Linked DNA regions of Homo sapiens: regions 1, 3 and 4 are each linked to region 2. The links are contacts of gene promoters, found by promoter capture Hi-C in blood cells and fetal thymus (Javierre and others, 2016). All regions are on one chromosome and are shown on one strand. Each heading gives the region's core, a stretch centred on a gene start or on the middle of the fragment in contact. The rest is flanking DNA. Distances are from core to core; before and after follow the strand shown.

Region 1 (5,032 bases), core at 668-3,167, 550 kb before region 2:
GCACGCGCCTGTAATCCCAGCTACTCGGGAGGCTGAGGCAGGAGAATCACTTGAACTGGGAGGTGGAGGTTGCAGTGAGCCGAGATTGTGCCACTGCACTCCAGCCTGGGCAACAAAGCAAGACTTTGTCTCAAAAAAAAAAAAAAAAAGGAAAAGAAAAAAAGCTACTGTAATTTGGCAAATGTCTCTGGCATTTGAGCTGAAACCTGCTCTTTCCCTGCTGTTCCCAGCTCGGCAATGCAGACTGCACTCCAGAGGCTGCAGCCAGGCACACAGGCTCTACTCCCCATAGCTTCTAGTCGAAGGGCCTCCTTCCTGGAAGAGGCAGGGCCTCAGCTTTTCTCCTCTTGTCCTCAACTGCCTGTTGCTGAGACTAAGTCCCAGGTGAGTGTGGCATTGTTCTGCCCAGCCCCTGTTTATGGAATGGAGGATCAGCCTAGAGCCTTGGAAATTGTGCTTCTAAGAATACAGGAGCCCGGATCCCCTTGGGCTGGTTCACAGGCATTGGTTCCAAGATGGGAGAGGCAAGCCCAGAAGACCTGTGTGTCCCCACAACATACACACAATGAAGCAAAGAGCCTGGGGTGTCACTCAGAGAGAAGATTGCCATTGTCTCCACTCCCAGCTCTTCCCAAAGGGACGAGCTGTTCTAAATGCTGTTTCACTTGCAACAGAATTTAGAGAAGTTCAACCCTCACTGAACATGAAAATAAAAGACATCCAAATTGGGAAAGAAGAAGCAAACTATTTCTATTCACAGATGATATGATCTTGCATATAGAAAATCTTAAGGAATGCACTAAAAAGCTGTAGAACTAATCCACAAGTTCAACAAGGTTGCAGAATATAAGATCAATACACAAAAATCAATTGTATATGTTTTCGTGTAGACATGTTTTCATTTCTCTTGGTTATATACTTGGGAGTGAAATTGGTTATATGGTAAATATATTTAATCCCCATATATTTATTAAAATATGTTTAATCACTTGAGGAACTTCTGGACTGTTTTCCCAAGTGGCTGCACCATTCCTCCCAGCCCTGGAGGGTTCCAATTTCCCCACATGGTCACCAACACTCCTTCTTATCTGTCATTTTGATTCCAGTCAATCTGATAGGCGTGAAGTGCTATCACGTTGTGGTTTCGATTTGCATTTCCTTGATGATGAATGATGCTAAGTATCTTTTCATGTGCTTATTAATCATCTGTATGTCTTCCTTGGAGAAATGTCTATTCAGATCTTCTGCCCATCTTTTAATGAGGTCATTGTCTTTATCACTGAACTGTGAGAGGTCTTCATGTATTCTAGATGCAAGTCCCTAATCGTATCTGATTTGCAAATATTTTCTCCCATTCTGTGGGTTTTTTTTACTTTCTTGATAGTGTCCTTTGATGCACAAAAGTTGTTAATTTTCATTAAGTCCAGTTTATGTATCTTCTTGTTTGTCATTCCTGCTTTTGGTGCCATATCTTAGACTCCATTGCCAAATCTGAAGTCACGATGATTTCCCACTGTTTTCTTCTAAGAGTTTTATGGTTTTAGTTCTTACATTTAGGCCTTTGATCCGTTTTTGATTAATTCTTCTATATGGTGTGAGGTGAGAGTCCAACTTCATTCTTTTGCATGTGGCGATAGAGTTGTCTCAGCATTTGTGGAAAGACTATTCTTTCCTCACTGAATGGTCTTGGCCCCTTTGTTGAAAATACATTGATTATAGACACATGGACTCCCATTGATTTATATGTCTATCTTAATGCCAGTGTAATACTATCTTGATTACTATAGCTTTCTTAGTAAGTTTGAAATAGGTGTGGAGTCCTAATTAGGAAAGAGGAGTCAAGCTGGTGGGACCAAGGGAAAGCAAAGAGATAAAGCAGGTAAGCGACAAGTCTGCCTTTCTTCATGGTCCAGAACACGCAGCCCTCCTGCGCAAACAGCTCACAATTTTCCTGTGCCGAGCTATTACCAGACACCTGCAAGTTAGCTCACTGTAGCTTTGGTGTTATTGGTACTGCACAAAGCCCTCTTCAGCATAAATGCCACCCTATAAAATCCCCAGCAAGCCTTGGTCTCCTCATAGTCAGCCTCTCTCCTGTGGGCTGCCCGCTGCCTCCTCGAAATGTATTTTCCTACTTTCTCTCATAAATCTGCCTTTCTTTACCTACAACTGTCTTGGTAAATTCATTACCCCCATGCCACTGGCTGAGATAGCCATTGCTCCCCAGCAACAATAAGGACACATGAGTCCTACTACTTTGATCTTCTTTTTCAGGATTGTTTTGACTAAAACAATCCATCAAATTTTAGAACCAGTGGGTCAATTTCTACAGAGAAGTTGGCTGGAGTTCTAATTGGGATTGTATTGAATTTGTAGATTGGGTTTGAGACAGCCAAATGCCCAGAATCTCTGCCCCATCTGACAAGTGTTTACACCAGATGCTTTTGTGCAGATGAGGGAACCTGCCCAGGGCCTTGTCTGCACATGCCCACATGCGCACTGGGGAAACGGGTGAAGCCACGGGCAGGGGAGGAGCCTGGCCTCTTCAGTTCCTGTGTGGTGGCCTGGGATTCCATTTGTGAGGTGGGAGCCTGTTAGCAGGACTCCATCTCACTTTGCTGAGTTTTCTTTTTCTTTTCTTTTTTTCCCTTGTCACCCAAGAAAATCCTGCTCTACTCACCCTTCAATGTGTTCGTGTGCCTAGATTTTCCTGGTCATGTGACAAGTACCCAGTTTCAGCTGAACTAAGGAGCAAAATTCTGCAATAGTTTGTATATTGCCATCTTAATATAGCAAGACTTCTGAATCCATACACGTGGGATATTTTTCCATTTATTTAGATCTTCAATTTTTGTGGATGACGGTTTGTAGTTTTTGGAGTATAAATTTTGTACTTCCTTTGTTTATTCCTAAGTACCTATTCTTTTGATACTTTTGAGTATGGAATTGTTTTCTTAGTTTCCTCTTCAGATTGCTCATTGCAAGTATATAAAAACACAATTGATTTTTGTGTATTGATCTTGTATTCTGCAACCTTGTTGAACTTGTGGATTAGTTCTACAGCTTTTTAGTGCATTCCTTAAGATTTTCTATATGCAAGATCATATCATCTGTGAATAGAAATAGTTTGCTTCTTCCTTCCCAATTTCGATGTCTTTTATTTTCATGTCCAGTGAGGCTTGCACTTTTCTAAATTCTGTTGCAAATTAAACCATCCCTTTGGGAAGAGAATGGGAGCTGTTACGAGGGTCTGCTTCTTCCTCTGGGCAAAATCTCAGAGCCCTGGAGCTCGGAGTGGGAACAATGGCGATCTTCTCTCTGAGTGACACCCCAGGCTCTGTGCTCCACTGTGTGTGTGTGTTGGAGGGACACACAGGTCTTCTCGGCGTGACTCTCCCAGCATGGAACCAATGCCTATGAACCAGACCAAGGGGATCTTGGCTCCTGTAGTCTTAGGATCACCATTCCCAAGGCTGCAGGCTAAGCATCCACTCCACAAACAGGAAATGGGCAGAACAAGAGCATCTCCAGCGTGGGGCCACACTCACCTGGGATTTAGTCTCAGCAACAGGCAACTGCAGACAAGATGAGAAAAGTAAGGCCCTGCCCCTTCCAGGAAGAAGGCCCTTCGACTAGGAGCTGTGGGGAGCAGAGCCCATGCACTTGGCTGCAGCTTCTGGTGTGCATCTGCATTGCTGAGCTGGAAGCAGTGGGGAGACAGCAGGTTTTAGCTCATATACCAGGGACATTTGCTGTTCTTGTCAAATTACAGTAGCTTTTCTTGAATATATGTTTCTTCTTAGGACCATACAGCAGAGACTCTAAATGACTGTGTTTTAACCATTTTCAAAAGTTTTGCTGGGGAGTGGGTTGAGAGAGCTCCTCATGCGGTCATTCTGGGGGTCTCTCATGTGGATCCCACTTGAAATCCATTTGTCATTGAGTTTTCAGTCTTGGGCAGAGGTATTCATCTCTGAATTTCTTTTTACATAAACTCTGATTGCAGCCTTATTTGTAATAGCCCAAAACTGGAAACCACCCAAATGCTCATCAACAGGTGAATGGATAAACACATTGTGATAGATCCGTACGATGGAACACTACTCAACGTTATGCTAACTGAAAGGCAGACAAAACGCAGATACTTGATGAACCTATACACATAAAATCCAGAAAGTGCAAAGGCACCCATAGGGAACCTTCGATGGGCAGAGGGTGGTGGGTAGGGGGACCGAAAGGCTCAGGGAAACCTGGGGAGTGATGAATATGTTTACTGTCTTGACTGGGGTGCTGGTGTCATGGGTGTATCATATGACAAACCTATCACATACACTTTGAATATGTGTTTACTGTATGCCAATCACATCTGAATAAAGACATGAAAAATGAAATCAGGAGTGAAAGTCCAATTGTTGGCTCTATAGTTTCTCTCATGTTGATTTGTGCTACTGGCTGACCAGCTAGCTAGATATGTTTATTCCATCAACCAACTGGTCTGCAGTGCTCCAGAAGCAGCTGAGACTCCCCTGAAAACGAACTGTTTCTCTCCAGCATTGTGCATTAACTCGGCAAGTGTCCTTTGTTAAAGAATGGAGTCAACTGAGACATGAAATAGCCAGTTATCAAGCCCCAAACTGATGCATTCTTGAGAAAAATGGTTGACTTTCCCATGGCTTCCCTTGAAGCCCTGGAAGCCCACAGTAAATCATCTCTGAGGCAGGTTTGCTCCAGTTGGGCCTTTGAACAAAGCCAGCACACAGGACCATGCAGGGCCCGCCTGAGCTTGGAGCAGCACCTTCCCAGTGGTGCACCCTGCTGGGCCTGCAATCTTCCTGTATCACACACCTCGAGGTACCTGAGGATCAATTATATTTTAATTTATTATGAAATCTGAAACTACTATAAGCTTCTTGGGGATAGGTACAGGCCAAAAGTCTTAAAAGGTTCAAGCACTTCCGGAACAAAAACCCCTTCATTAGAATTAACTATCACAATCACCATCAAAATCTTGCACTTACAGGGAAAGGGCCAT
Region 2 (4,890 bases), core at 534-3,033:
CTAAATTCAAAGATGTTTAGAAATAATTCATACTTTGTTCATTTCAAGAGCATCTATACCCTTCACAGACAACAGTTGCTGCATCCAGGTGTTGTCAGACCCCTGGCACTCTGGGGTCCCAGGGCCACAGTCTGTGAACAATCAGACTGTGGCCTTTACTGCCAGACCCTGTGTTCTTATCGCCCTAACATTCCAAAGTCAGAAATGGGTACAATGTTAAAGGAAGGATAGGTCCATTAAGAAATTATGGCTGGGCGCAGGGGCTCACGCTTGTAATCCTAACACTTTGGGAGGCCGAGGTGGGAGGATCCCTTGAACTCAGGAGTTCTAAACCAGTCTGGGCAACATAGGGAGACCCCATCTCTACAAAAAAATAAAAGAAATAAAAATTAGAAATTAAAAAAAAGAAAAGAAATGATAGGAATCCAGGCTAAAATGACATCATTCCATTTGAATTTTAGGGCAATTATTTTGCAAACTCTAAATTATCCTAAAAAATTAAAGCAGCGTAATGCCTAGAGGAATTTTGTTTCTTCTAAGAAATGAATTTGGTTACACGGGTCCCTGAGAGGGACGGCCTAGAGTTGACAGTATGGGAAACTCTGCATGTAATTCTGGACACACAGGGCTAGTCGACTTCGAATCATATTTGTCAGAAGGCCCCTGAGCACATTTCATTTGCCCTGCATTCCCATCAACCTCCTGCAGAGATGGGCACTGCAGCCAGCAGGCAGCAATGGCATCTGCCATCCAGGACCCCTGTCTCCAACAGCAAAGCGTCTGAGCCGGGGTTCTGAAGTGCGCCGCCCAACAAGACTGCCTGGGAGCCCTCCACGTCCTGGTGCTCGGACCCATGGGCGAGAGGCTCAGGCAGAATCTCCGGGCGGAAGTGGGCAGTGATGACTTCATGGTCCCTGCCCCGGCCCTGTGACCCCAGTGCACTGCCCGGACCCCCGGTGACCCCGAGGTACTGCCCAGGCTGAGCATCCCCCACCTGGACCCTGCCTTACTCCCTCCCACCAGCACTGTTAGAAATGCAGTCTGGGGCCCCCACAGGACTCGCTGGGCTGAATCTGCATTCAACAGATGCTCAGGGCTCCTGTGCACTTCATTTTGAGGACCACTAGATTTAGGGGTTTGTGTTTATGAATTCCTCCATGGACACAAAAAAATCCTAAAGGGCCCTCGGTGCCACTGCCCTCTGGGGATCTAAGAGGCTATTGCTGCTCTGGGTGAATCTGGGAGGCAGAGGAGTCCCCGGGGACCCCTGTGTTCCCTGCCAACCCAGCTCCAGCTGCCAGGCTCACCCTTCCACTGGGTGACCCAGAATCGGGGCGGCCGCAGCGGGGGGCCCAGGGAGCCGGTCGCCCCTCACTCGCCTGCCTCACGCCCTCCCAGGCCAGGGATGCGGCCCCAGCTGGCTCAGCCCAAGGTCGTGGACACAGTGGGTCCAGGCCGGCTCTGCTCTGACCTCAATCTCCCTCCTGAAGGAGAGGAGGGAAGGGGAAGGGCCTGTGAGTGCTGCTCACCCCGGAACGTGCCCTCACCGCAATCAGAGCAGACAAAGCTGCAGCCAAGGGCGTCCCAAGAGCAGCAGGGTGAGGAAAGCGGGCCTGGCCCGCCCCAGGGGCAACAGCCGGGCTGCACCCAGCCCCTGGTGTTTGGTGAGGCGATGGCCGGCGCTGATAAACGGCCCTGGCCTCTCCCTGGGATCCTTCGCCTGCGATGCCTTTGACCTCTGGCAGAGGAAACTATAAAGCCCAGAGGTGGGCATCTGGCCTCAGTCTGGGCGTAGAGGGTGCAGGGAGCAGACGGGAGGATCTCAGGCCAGGGACGATGGCGGCTCTGCAGGAGAAGAAGACGTGTGGCCAGCGCATGGAGGAGTTCCAGCGTTACTGCTGGAACCCGGACACGGGGCAGATGCTGGGCCGCACCCTGTCCCGGTGGGGTACGTGCGGGGGGCGGGCCGGCTGGGTGCATGGAGGGGGCCGCTCTGAGGACGCAGCCTCCAGGTGAGCTCAGGAGGAGGGGAGCAGAGGGCCCCTGACAGTGAGACCCCGATGCTGCCTGGATGGCGTGGACGGGCTTCGGCCAGGGCCTCACTTGCCTCCCAGGGAAAGCGAGGGTCCCCAGAGCATCCTGAAGGCTGAGTTGACCTGGAGCCCCAGCTGCAGAACGCCGGTGGAGGGCGTCCACAGACTGGCCCCAAATGTCAGCCGTATGTCTGAGAACAGCATTTTAAAAGTATGTTTCTAAAGTGAATCATTTTGAAAATAACGTGAAAGGTGGCAACGGTGATTCCTTGGTCACACAGATTCACGCAATGACCTGAATAAGGGGCTCTGCCGAGACGCGGCTGCCAGCCCCTTTCCGGGACACCCGCTGGCGTCCAGATGCGGAGGTGGGGAGTAAACCAGGCCTGCCTCAGCCTGCAGCACCTGCGCCTTGTGCGAGGTCTGCCCTGCAGGGTCCTGTCCCCGTGGCTGCACAGAGGCGCGGGCAGCCTGGCCCTCCTGGGAGGAAAGCAGATGCCTGGGCCTCCAAGGCCACACAGGTGGTGGAAGCGTCTGCGTCTACATCAGGGCTGCCACACCCGTTCCGGGAAACGCCCTCACCCCTTATGAGAGAGTCTGGAGGAAGCACCTGTGCGCCCCCACCTCCCCCTGCGACCCCTGGGCGTCGGGATGCGGCTGAACTGGCTGGCCTGGTGCCGTCCCCGGCTCCCAGGGAAGGTCAGGCCCTCCTCAATTCCCACGGTGCCCGGCTCTGGGGGTCCCAGAGCCGAGGTGGGAATGCAAAGCCCCAGGCCCGCCCCACCTGTGTGTGTAGCTGAGACGTGCTGGGAATGCCCGTGACACGCTGCCAAATCCCCCACACTCACCACAGTGCTGGTGAAGGCTGCAGCCCCCGCTGGAGGCTCCACGGTCTCAAAGGGCACCAGAGCCAGCTGGAGTCATGGGCGCATTTGAAGTAGAACAAATACCCCGTTCCTAGAGAGGCAGGGACCGGGGGCAGAAGGGCCTCCTGGGCCAGGCGGGGCGGCAGAGCGGGAGGCCAGGATGGGGAAGGAGCTGAGGGCGGGGGCTGGGCTGGGGGCTGCCGGCCAGGTCCTTGGAAGCCCCATCTTTTGGGCCATTCTAGATGCTGAGACTCCCATGTGCCGCCTCCTGGCTGCAGGGCCACAGAGAACCTTCTGGAATGGTCTCACTGCCTGGCCGGTAGACATGGCCTCCGTTTGGGATAAGAAAGTCTTAGGGCCCCAGGAAAACACAACTCAAGTGAAATGACAAAAACAAAAGGAATAGGACACGTTATTCTTACTAATTGGGGGACGGGTGCAGGTGCAGGAGAGGCAGAGTGAGCTGCACCCGGCCGGCCCCAGGAGCTGGCGGGAATGGGACTCTCAGTCACCTCCCAACCCCTCCCCTGTGCACTGCAGCGTGCCCTGAACACCGTGGTGCAAGCGGGGGCCCAGGAAGTGCAGGGAGCATGGCCCTCCCGAGCCTGGGCCCAGCCTGGCCAACCTCGGGCTCCTACCCGGGAGGCAGGGCTGAGCCGCCTGGTGGAGCTGAGACTCGCCACAGAGTGGGTCAGCAGCCACTGGGGAGACACGCACCGCCCACATCTCCACTGTGCACCACGGGCCCCAGAGCAGACCCACAGGACCCACAGCGGGGGAACAGAGACCCCTGCCGTCACGAGCGTAGGTCCCCGGGGGACAGGCGGCCAAGTCAAATAGAAGCCACATCAGGAGTGACCTGGGGACACTGAGGCAGGACCTGCAGGGCCAGCACCAGGGAGGCACCAGGCGTGATCCAGTGACAGGACAGAAACCCTCCACCACTGCGGGCCCCACACTGCTGAAGCTGGAAACTCAAAACCGGAGGCTGAAGCCAAGCTGCTGTGGCCACACAAGAACGCCGTCACCAGGGACGCCCGGCGGGGAAAGGAGGGACTCAAAGTGGATGCCAGGTGAGCAAGACCCAGCCCTGAGCCCAGCTGGTGCTGAAGGGACCTGGCTCAGAGATCTGTGCTGTCCCAGCTCACAGAAGAGGGCAGGCAGTCCACAGGCCACAGCCTCTCATCACAGCTCAGGGCTCTGGCCTCTTGGCCCTGCACTCCCTTGCTTCTCTGACTTGGTCCTGCCCTTTGGTTGTGTTTTGGGTCACTGGAGAACGGCTCACTAAGCAGAATCCATGCCACATCAGCGGAGAGGAGGAGCAGGAGGCCCAGTTCATTACAGACTTTCCAGAAAGACAAAAGCCGTAGCAAACACAAAACCGTCCTCTTCCTGCCGGTGTCTCCCTGCAAATGCCTCCTGCGATCCACACAAGCTAATTTACAGAGACGAAGACAGCACACAGGCAGTCGCCTGTGTCCAGGAGCCGCCCATGGCCACGGGGACGGTGGCTTCCGTTAGGTTCTGACGCTGCAGGGGAAGCTCACAGGAGGGTCTCAGAAGCAGATGAGATGAAGCTGCACCCTGAGTTGCCGGTGCCTATGGACACCCTTGCTTCTGAGAAGAGCCATCTCCAGGGCTTCCCTTCCTCCCTTTCTCTTCCTGATGTCTTTGTGGAAGCAGGACCGGCCATGCACTTCCAGGCTGCACTATGGGTCACCATGGGCAGGACCCCACCTCTCTGCCTCAGTTTCCCTTCCTGTGATGGGGGAACCATAACTCCCCCCTCAGAGGGCCCTCGGTTCCTGCTGGAGCTGGGGTGGTGGCGCATCCTCGGCCACATCTCAAACAGCGGCTGGAGTGAAGGCAGCTGGGTGCAACTGCCTCGGGTCGCAGGATTCTGCCTATGTGGACGTCCAGACGGGCAAACCCAGAGGCAGAACGTGGCCGGTGGTGCGGCGCTGGGAGGGGATTGTAGTGACTGTTTGTGG
Region 3 (4,590 bases), core at 1,471-3,970, 660 kb before region 2:
AACATGGTGAAACCCTGTCTCTACTAAAAATACAAAAATTAGCTGGGCGTGGTGGTGCATACCTATAATCCCAGCTACCTGGGAGGCTGAGGCAGGAGAATCGCTTGAACCCGGGAGACGGAGGTTGCAGTGACCCAAGACTGAGCCACTGCACTCCAGCTGGGCAACAGAGTAAGACTCCATACTCACCCCCAACCCAAAAAAGAAAGAAATTAATAAACTAATTTTCCAAGTAGTTTTATGTTTGAAGAAAAACTGAAGGGAATGTACAAGAATTCCCACCTATCTTCTTGTCCCCAGTTTTTCCTACTACAGGCTGAGCATCCCTAATCTGAAAATCTGAAATCTGATTATGCTCCAACATCCAAAACTTTTTGAGTGCCAAAAGGAGCATTTTAGATTTCAGATTACGGATGTTTAACCAGTAAGTACAATGCAACTATTCCAAAATCCAAAAAAAAAAAAAAAAATCCAAAGCACTTCTGGTTCCAAGCATTTCGAATGAAGGATACTTCACCTGTATTAACATCTTGCATTAGTGTGAGATATCTGCTACAATGATAAGCTAATACTGATTTATTAAGTAGTCTATAGTTTACACAAGGAGTCATTTTTATTTATTTATTTTTTTTTGAGAGGGAGTCTCGCTCTGTCACCCAGGCTGGAGTGTAATGGCGCAATCTCGGCTCACTGCAATCTCCACCTCCCAGGTTCAAGCGATTCTCCTGCCTCAGCCTCCCCAGTAGCTGGGACTACAGGCGCGCGCCACCACAGGCTCACGCCTGTAATCCCAGCACTTTGGGAGGCCAAGGTGGGCGGATCACCTAAGGTTGAAAGTCAGAGAGCAGCCTAACCAACGTGGAGAAACCTCGTCTCTACTAAAAATACAAAATTAGCCGGGTGTGGTGGCAGGCGCCTGTAATCCCAGCTACTTGGGAGGCTGAGGCAGGAGAATCGCTTAAATCCGAGAGACGGAGGCTGCAGTGGGCCAAGATCGCATAACTGCACTCCAGCCCAGGCAACAAAAGTGAAACTCTGGCTCATTAAAAAACAAAAACAAAAATAAAAACAAAAAACTTGCCATTTAGGCCGGACATGGTGGTTCATGCCTGTAATTTCAGCACTTTGGAAGGCCGAGGCGGGTGGATCACCTGAGGTCAGGAGTTCGAAACCAGCCTGACCAACATGGAGAAACCCTATCTCTACTAAAAATACAAAATTAGCCAGGTGTGGTGGCAAGCGCCTGTAATGCCAGCTACTTGGGAGAATGAGGCAAAAGAATCCCTTGAACCCAGGGGGCGGAGGTTGCAGTGAGCCAAGGTCGGGCCATTGCACTCCAGCCTGGGCAACGAGAGCGAAACTCCCGTCTCAAAAAAAAAAAAAAAAACAAAACTTGCCATTTAATCATTTTTAAAAGCACAATTTAGTTAGTTTAGTACTAAAACGTTGTGCAAACATCACCACTATCCACTTCCAGAACTTCTTCACCACAAACAGAAATTCTGTACCCATGAAACAGTAACTTCCACTCTCCACTTTCAGTGCTGGTAATCTCAATTCTGTGCCTGAGGGGGAATCATACAGTATGTCTTTTTTGTGTCTTATTTCACTCAACATAATGTGTTCAATGTGCTCGTTTATACTGTATAATGTGTTCGTTTATATTGCAGCATGTATCAGAATTTCATTCCTTTCTAAAGATGAACAATGGTCCATTCATTATATGTATATACCACAGCTTGCCTTTCATCCACATGTTGATAGACATCTGGATTTTGAATAATGCTGCGATGAACATTTGTGAACAAGTATCTGAGTCTCTGCTGTCAATTTTTGGGGGTATAAACCTAGAACTGAGGAACGACTACCAATTTCCATAGCTGCTGCACCACCCTACTTTCCCACCAGCAATGCACCCGAGCTTCAATTTCTCCACATCCCCAACACTCATAATTTCCCTTTTTTTTAATAGCCACCCTAACAGGTGTGAGGTGGTATCTCATTGTGGTTTTCATCTGCATTTCCTTAATGGTTAGTGATGTTGAGCATCACTGCACGTGCTTATTGGCCATTTGTCTCTCTTCTCTGGAGAAATATCTATTCAAATTCCTTGCCCATTCTTGAACTGGGTTGCTTTTTGTTGGTCAGTTGCATCTCTTCTTGTATTCTAGACATTAACTCTTTATCAGGTTTACAAATGTCCTCTCCCACTTTGGAGGCTGTATAGCGGATTTTTAAACAGTAATAATGACAGAAGAGGAGGCAGTCTAGAACTAAAACAGAAAGAATGGCTTTCGTCTTGTGCCGCCCTCAACTTCCCAATGGTTTCAAACGCAATGTTTCCAGCCTCGGCAGCGACTGACACCGGGCCTCCCCGCTCCCTGCACAAAGACGCACTCCCGCCCCGGCCTGTGGGGGCGGGCCCTTCCCTCGGGCCGTGTGGGAAGCGAGGCAGCGCAGGCCCCCTTCACTCGGACCCGCGGCTTCCCGGGACCGTCCCCGCCAGGTCGGCGGCCGACACGGGGCTCGGGGATGCAGGCCCCAACCACGCCCCTCCCCCGCTCGCTCTCGCTCCTCACCGGTCCGGCCGCGGGCGGCGTCCAGTGGGCGATGGACCGCGCGGAGGGCCCGGCTCGCGGTCGCGGGCGGCTCCGCGAGGCCCTGCAGCGCAGCGGCCTCCCGAATGGCGACTGGATGCAGGAGCCGGGATCCGGGTGCGCGAGCGTGCGCGCTCCCGCGGGACGGGCGGGGGCTGACGGGAAGCAAGTTTGGCGCCGCGCGCCCTCCCGCGCGGGCCAATCAGATCGCCGATCGCGTGGCGCGGCTGTGCCAAAAGTGCGTGGGCAAAACTAGCGGCTCGCGCGGGCCTTCGGAAGGGCTGCGTGCCCGCCCCGCCCCGGAAGTGCCGCACGTGCCCACTCCGCCTCCGCTTCCCGCGCGCGCCCGGGCGCGGCTCCGGGAGGGTTCCGCCGCGTCTGGCCTGTGGCCTCCGGCCAGGCCCTTGGAACGGCCCCGGCCTGCCGCCGCCGTGCGGATATCTCTTCCTTTTCTTGCTGTTTTGATTGTTGTGTGAATGAATTTATTAGGAAAAAAAGAGCTAGACCTGCCCCATACATTCTCAGGGATATTACTGGCATAATACCTATGACAAAAGTACAAGACAAAGTTGTTGGATGACAGTAAATATTCCTTTTCTCATCACCCCGCCTCCACTGAAAGTCCCGATTCCCAGAAGTTATCTTCTTCGTTTTTTGTTTTCAGTTTTATGAATGTTACCACCACAATTCTAATTAAAATGCATGCACCTCTAATGCTGATGCCATCAGTCTGTATGCTTTGAAAGACTGTAAAATTAGCTCACACTGCTCTCTACCTTTGTACCCTTCTGAAGTTTTGCTTGTTGTGAATTTCATTTTTGTTTTTGTGGTGAAAATGAACTATAGAATGGCCGGGCGCGGTGGCTCACGCTTGTAATCCCAGCACTTTGAGAGGCCTAGGCAGGTGAATCATCTGAGGTCAGGAGTTCGAGACCAGCCTGTCCAACCTGGTGAAACCTTGTCTCTGCTAAAAATACAATATTAGCCAGGCGTGGTGGCGGGCGCGTGTAACCCCAGCTACTAGGGAGGCTGAGGCAGGAGAATCCCATAGAACCGGGGAGGCGGAGGTTACAGCGAGATCGCGCCACTGCACTCCAGCCTGGGGGAGAGAGTGAGACTCTGTCTCAAAAAAATAAAAATAAAATCCATAGAATTTACCGTCTTAACTATCTTTACGTGTACAGCTCAGTGGTGGTAAGTATATTCATAACACCACCATCCATCTCTGTACCTCTTTCATCTTGAAAAACAAACTATGCATTACATGTTAACTCTCGGTTCCCCTCTACCTTCTACTTTCTGGCAGTCACCATCTTACTTCCTGTGTCTCTGAGTCTGACTACTCATAAGAGTGGAATCATACAGTATTTGTCTTGTGACTGACTTATTTTACTTAGCAGAACATCCTCAAGGTTCATCCATGTTGTAGCACATTGTGGAATTTCCTTCCTTTTTAACACTGAATACTATCCCATTGTATGGATATGCCACATTTTGCTTATCCACTCACCTGTTGATGGACACTTGGCTTGCTTCCCTATTCAAGATATTGTGAATAATGCTTTGACATTTTCAAAGAACCAATTTTTGGTTTCATTGATTTTCTCTATCGTTTTCTATTTTCTATTTCATTTATCTTGGCTTTAATCTTTATTATTTCCTTCTTTTTGCCAGCTTTGGATTTAGTTTTTCTTTTTATAGTTCATTAAGTTGTAAAGTTAGGTTGTTAATTTGAGATTTTCTTGGTTTTTGATGTATTTATAGCTATAAACTCCCCCTTTAGCATTGCTTTTGCTGTATCACAAAAGTTGCTATATTGTGTTTACATTTTTTTCTTTTCTTTTCTTTTCTTTTTTTTTTTTTTTTTTTTTTGAGACAGAGTCTCGCTCTGTCGCCCAGGCTAGAGTGCAGTGGCGCCATCTCGGCTTACTGCAAGCTCCGCCTCCCGGGTTCATGCCATTCTCCTGCCTCAGTCTCCCGAGTAGCTGGGACT
Region 4 (5,061 bases), core at 191-2,690, 580 kb before region 2:
AAAGCTAGTCATTAACAATTCATGTGTGATTTATATAACACTTTCAACGAGCTGTTAATGAATCCCAAAGTGAAATTTAGAAGACAGAACACTATACTCAAATACCTTATATAACACAGTGGCAGTTTTAATAACACTCAAGTTTAAAAACACACACACATAAATTAACTAAGCTTCACTGAACATGGGGAAGAACTCACCTCCTCCAAGTCTAACAAAAATGAAGGAGCCGACAATGAGGGCCACCCACAGTGACCTACGGCTAGCTTTAGACCCTGTTCTGCTCCTCAGTCCTCAGTCTTCTACAGTCTCTGCCTCAGTTCCCCTGGAGACAAGCCAGGACCACTGCTGCTAGCCCGAGGCAGGAGGAATGCCAACGGGATAGTTATAAATATGCTCAATACCGGTGTCTCTGGCTGGAAACCGGGCCTGTCATATTCCTCACTACGTCTCCGTACCGAAGAAAAAGTGATCAGAAAACACTGAATTCAACTGACTCATGGTAAATAAAAACACAGCCCTCCAAATGGACTGCAAACATTTGGCCACGTCAGTTAGCACCCAATTCCGAAAACTCTGCATTACCATGGCTTTTCTTTCCCTTTCTTTCCAATTTCCTGAAAGAGCAAGCATTTCAACAAAAAATAAACAACAATATAGATAAAACTGATGCTGCTGATTCTCGAAGACACTTCTTGCCTTAAACGCTCTCTGCTATTCAAAGGTAGTGCAGAGAACACAGACATAGTTAACGAGAATTTTTAAAGTATTGATTTGAGACAACAGGCTTCTTCACATCTTTATTCACTTAAATTCAGCCCAGTAAAAATTACAACTAAACCTCTCAAAAATGTTTTATTAGCTAGCCCTGCAACTTTCCTCCAAAAATTGTCCTTCAACTTGCACTGAGTAGTCAGTGTTTCCTGGGCACCTCCTCCGCGCCAGGTGCAGAACGAGGCTCAGACCCGACTGAGGCGCCCCGTGCGCTCGGGGGCCTCCACTCCCCGGGCTGTGCCCCTCCCAGCTGCAGGGACCGCTCCCTTCTGGGCGAGGCGGAGACAGCGCTGCTGGCCCCAGATGAAGGCCCAGGGCCGGCCCAGTCCTTCCCCACCAAGAGCCCCGACAACAGTCACCCCAGCCCCACGCCGCGCGGAAAAAGACCCGGCGAGGCCTGGGCCCCGCACCCCGAGTCGGGGCCGCCCACCTGGTCGAGGTACTGCCGGACGCGCTTCCGCAGCCGCTCTAGGTTCATGGCGGCGCGGGCCCGGCCTCACGCCACACTCCGCCGCTAGGCGCGCGCCTCCTGCACCCTAAGCACCCCGCCCCGTGCCCGTGCCCGTGCCTGCAGCCGCCGCCGCCGCCCCAGGACTCGAAGGCCGCGGACTCGAAGGCCGCAGGTCCCCACCCACACCCGCACCCCCCACCCAGGCCCCGTGCACTGCCCAGGCTCTTCCGCTCCAGGCAGGCCCCGCCCCGGAAGTCCACAGCAAACGAATCCCATCTGGCGCGGGAAAACGGACCCGAGTTGTTGGTTCCGATGCCTCTCCTGGCACGTGGGCTTCTGGTTGCCTTGGGGCGAGAGCGCGGCCTCCCTGGAATCGCTGCGGCGCCTCTGGGCATTGGCGAGAGAGTCAGGAGGGCTCGGGGCCGGACCACCCACCCGGGCAAAAAAGCAGGTGGCTGCTGAGCCTTCTTTCCCCAGAATGTAGTCAACATTTTAAAAATAAGAGCAACGCACTCTCATTACAAAAAAAAAAAATTGTGTGCACAAACAGCAAATGAAGTCAAAGACAACCTAGGGAAAAATTTGAAACCTATCACAAAATTCGAATTTCCTTATAATGTAGAGCCAATATTCCCTTTACATATATGTAATAAGTCAGTGGGAAGAGACCAATGGCTCAGGAGAAAGACAGGCAAAAAACAGTTCACAGGGAAAGAAATGCAAATAGACTTTAACATACGAAAGAAAGTCCAACTTAATTCATAATAAAAATTAAAATTAGAGTACCACTTTTCATATGTTAACAAAGATCACAAAGGTTGATGACACTGCTAGCAGGAATGTCGGGAAGCAGGCACCCTCAAGTTTTGTGAGTGGTATTGGTATACTCTCTAGGATGAACGAATTGGAATATCTTCCAAATTTAAAGGTGTTCGTGCTGTTAAACCTAATGATTTTTATTTTGGGAAATATACCATGGATTTGCATTTTTGCATGTGTGCAAAATGACCTGTGGTTTCGTTTGTAATAGCAAAAGATTGCAGACAATTTAAACACCCATGAAGTATGGAACTGAGTAAATAGGTCATGATACGCTCACGTAATGGAATACTCGCTGGCTGTTCAAAAGAACAGTCAGCTTTGCATGGACATTGAACGATCTTCAAGATATAGTATGTGGGAAAAAGCAAGTATAGGATCGTGTTTATCGTATGCCTGCATTTGAGTAAAATACGAATTTAATGATAGGTAGAAAAATCCCTAAACTGTCCCAGGAAGGAAAAATGAGAAAACCGGCATAGCGCAAGGCCTCTGGAAGGAGTGCTGGAAGATGAGAGATGGTAGAAGTGGGAGAGGTACTTCCTTGGATATCTTTTTGTGCTTTTGAATTTCAGTCAATGTGCATATATTACCTTTTGTGAAATTAAATCATTCAAACTTAAAATAATTTAAACTTGAAGCTGTTGGAACTTTGAATTACCTGAGCCTTGAGGGGAATGTGGCTACGCGGCCTAGGTCATGCCACACCCAGCTGTAACTTCTGCCTTTTTCCCTGTAAACAATAAAGACCAAATGGCACCGGAGATAAGACCCCCTCAGATCACTACCCCTCCTCATGGAGTTATAACGCAATCTTCCTTCAAATACAGAGATCCCTAACCAATGGAACCGCTGCGGCGTGTGCCCCTGGTCTCATATGAGAACTGTGGTGATCCTGCTGGAGCTTCTGTCTCCGCCTGGTAAGAGAGACCTGAGCTCCACTTGGAAAGGCTGACCCCATTTGTCCAGGTGGCCATTCTCAGGCTCTGTGCTCAAATACACACTATATGTAATCATATTTCTGAATCTCAATATTAAGGTTGACACTTTTAAAAAGTAAATATAACTTTTATAAATATAAAAACCTAAAAGAGTAAAAAAAATTCAAAGAAGCAAAAAAAAAAAAACTTGCTGTAAAGAATCCCACCCACTCAAAAATTCTCTCACGCTACTGTAAGTAATCTGCCGTGTAATTTTCTATGTGTGTGTATACATATATGACTGGGTAATATTTTGAAGTTGTGTTTAAAAATTTGTCCCCCTGTATATTTCCTTTTCCTCCTCCTTTCCCACTTCTGCAAGCAGGCAGTAATCAACTCTGCTCATTAACTTGGGGCAGGCATGTGGTGAGGTGTGTTTTAAGCCATATTTTCAACGACTTCTATCCATTTAATGAGATTCCTAGTTAACCAAAAATGAGTGACTGAGGCAAATGTCTCCATCAGTAGAAGTCTGATGATGGGCCCGGGAAAAACGCAAGCCACAGAAGCATCAACTGTGCCATCCAAATAGGGTTATGGGGACTGGGTGTTTAGGAGGAGACGGCAAGCAGGAGGAAAAAAAGGGAGGGGTCCACAGTGATGCTCTGATTAGTGCTCAGTAAACCAACAATTTACATAAGATGAGGCAAACATCTGACAAGAGGGAGTAGAGGAAAGAGTTATGTAGCCCATATCAGGGTAGGCAGAAGAGTGACTAATCTCATCTTGTCCTTGTTTTGTACCTGGAAGGTAAATTTGTAATTAATATTGCCAGGGCGAGATTTAACAGAAATCACTTTCAGGAGTCCTCTGCCAGATACCCTAACTCATCACTCTCAAGTTCAAAGTTCCAGAGATCCCTAGAGCAGGGGCACAATGCTGCCAGGTTCTTTGCTAATGCACAGCAAAAGTGACCTTTGCTTCAGTTCCTAGTAAGTTTCTCATCTCTATCTGAGACCTTATCAGCCTGCCCATCTCTCCATATCACTATCAGCATTTGGGTCACAACAATTTAAAAGTCTCTAGGAAGTTCCAAATTTTCCCCCATCTTCTTGTCTTCTTCTGAGCCCCCCACATTTTTCCAACCTCTGCCCATTACCCAGTTCCAAAGTTATTTCCGCATTTTCAGGTATCTTCATACGAATGCCCCACTTTTCAGTACCAATTTTCTGTATTAGCCTGTTCTCACATTCCTGTAAAGAAACACCTGAGGCCAGGCCCGGTGGCTCATTCCTTTAATCCCAGCACTTTGGGAGTCCGAGGCAGCTGGATCATGTGAGGTCAGGAGATCAAGACCAGCCTGGGCAACATACTGAAACCCCATCTCTACTAAAACTACAAAAAATTAGCCGGGTATGGTGGCAGATGCCCGTAGTCCCAGCTACTCGGGAGGCTGAGGCAGGAGAGTCACTTGAACCCCAGAGGCGGAGGTTGCAGTGAGCCAAGATTGCACCACTGCACTCCAGCCTGGGCAACAAGAGTGAAACTCCGTCTCAAAAAAAAAAAAGATAAAAAGAAACACCTGAGACTGGGTAATTTATAAGAAAAGAGGTTTAATTGGTTTACTGTTCTGCAGGCTGTACAGGAAGCATAGCTGCTTCTGCTTCTGTGCAGGTCTCAGGAAACTTACAATCATGGCGAAAGGCGAAGGGGAAGCAGACACAACTTACCTGGCCAGAACAAGAGAAAGGGAGAGAGGGGGCAGGTGCCACACACTTTTCAACAACCAGGCCTCACAAGAACTCACTCACTATACAGTCCCAAGTAGAGGATGGTGCTAAACCCTTCACGAGCACTCCACCCGCACGATCCAACCACCTCCCACCAGCCCCACCTCCAGCAGCAATGGGCACTCCACCCGCACGATCCAACCACCTCCCACCAGCCCCACCGCCAGCAGCAATGGGCACTCCACCCCCACGATCCAACCACCTCCCACCAGCCCCACCTCCAGCAGCAATGGGCACTCCACCCCCACGATCCAACCACCTCCCACCAGCCCCACCTCCAGCAGCAATGGGCACTCCACCCCCACGA

Evidence for each region. The method cuts DNA at HindIII sites, captures the fragments that hold promoters and counts their contacts. A CHiCAGO score of 5 or more calls a contact.
Region 1: a contact is called between a fragment that was not itself captured here and the fragment with the promoter of ATP4B in region 2, in 1 of 17 cell types (M1 macrophages). The highest score is 5.0, in M1 macrophages.
Region 3: the fragment with the promoter of CHAMP1 here is called in contact with the fragment with the promoter of ATP4B in region 2 in 4 of 17 cell types (total CD4 T cells, naive CD8 T cells, naive CD4 T cells and 1 more); the score reaches 7.6 in total CD4 T cells.
Region 4: the fragment with the promoter of CDC16 here is called in contact with the fragment with the promoter of ATP4B in region 2 in 6 of 17 cell types (M1 macrophages, endothelial precursors, M0 macrophages and 3 more); the score reaches 6.8 in M1 macrophages.

Annotation. Positions count from the first base shown.
Region 1 is chr13:114,201,222-114,206,253 of GRCh38, reverse strand. The region is part of intron 3 of CFAP97D2 (CFAP97 domain containing 2); the gene reads right to left. Among named protein-coding and RNA genes, the nearest start is that of CFAP97D2, 24 kb to the right of the region's middle. The HindIII fragment of the contact is 5,983 bases long and covers 1-4,908 here.
Region 2 is chr13:113,655,091-113,659,980 of GRCh38, reverse strand. ATP4B (ATPase H+/K+ transporting subunit beta) reads left to right here and starts at 1,783. Exons shown (of 7, transcript NM_000705.4): 1 at 1,783-1,948. The coding sequence starts at 1,837. It also overlaps a transcript of GRK1 not described here. RefSeq lists an enhancer at 1,964-2,464. The HindIII fragment of the contact is 11,349 bases long and covers 1-4,890 here.
Region 3 is chr13:114,312,633-114,317,222 of GRCh38, reverse strand. It overlaps CHAMP1 (chromosome alignment maintaining phosphoprotein 1), which reads right to left and starts at 2,720. Exons shown (of 3, transcript NM_032436.4): 1 at 2,580-2,720. RefSeq lists silencers at 2,383-3,062, 3,835-4,129. The HindIII fragment of the contact is 6,923 bases long and covers 1-4,590 here.
Region 4 is chr13:114,231,276-114,236,336 of GRCh38, reverse strand. CDC16 (cell division cycle 16) reads right to left here and starts at 1,440. Exons shown (of 18, transcript NM_001078645.3): 1 at 1,205-1,440. The coding sequence starts at 1,252. RefSeq lists a silencer at 1,122-1,481 and an enhancer at 1,592-1,641. The HindIII fragment of the contact is 7,021 bases long and covers 176-5,061 here.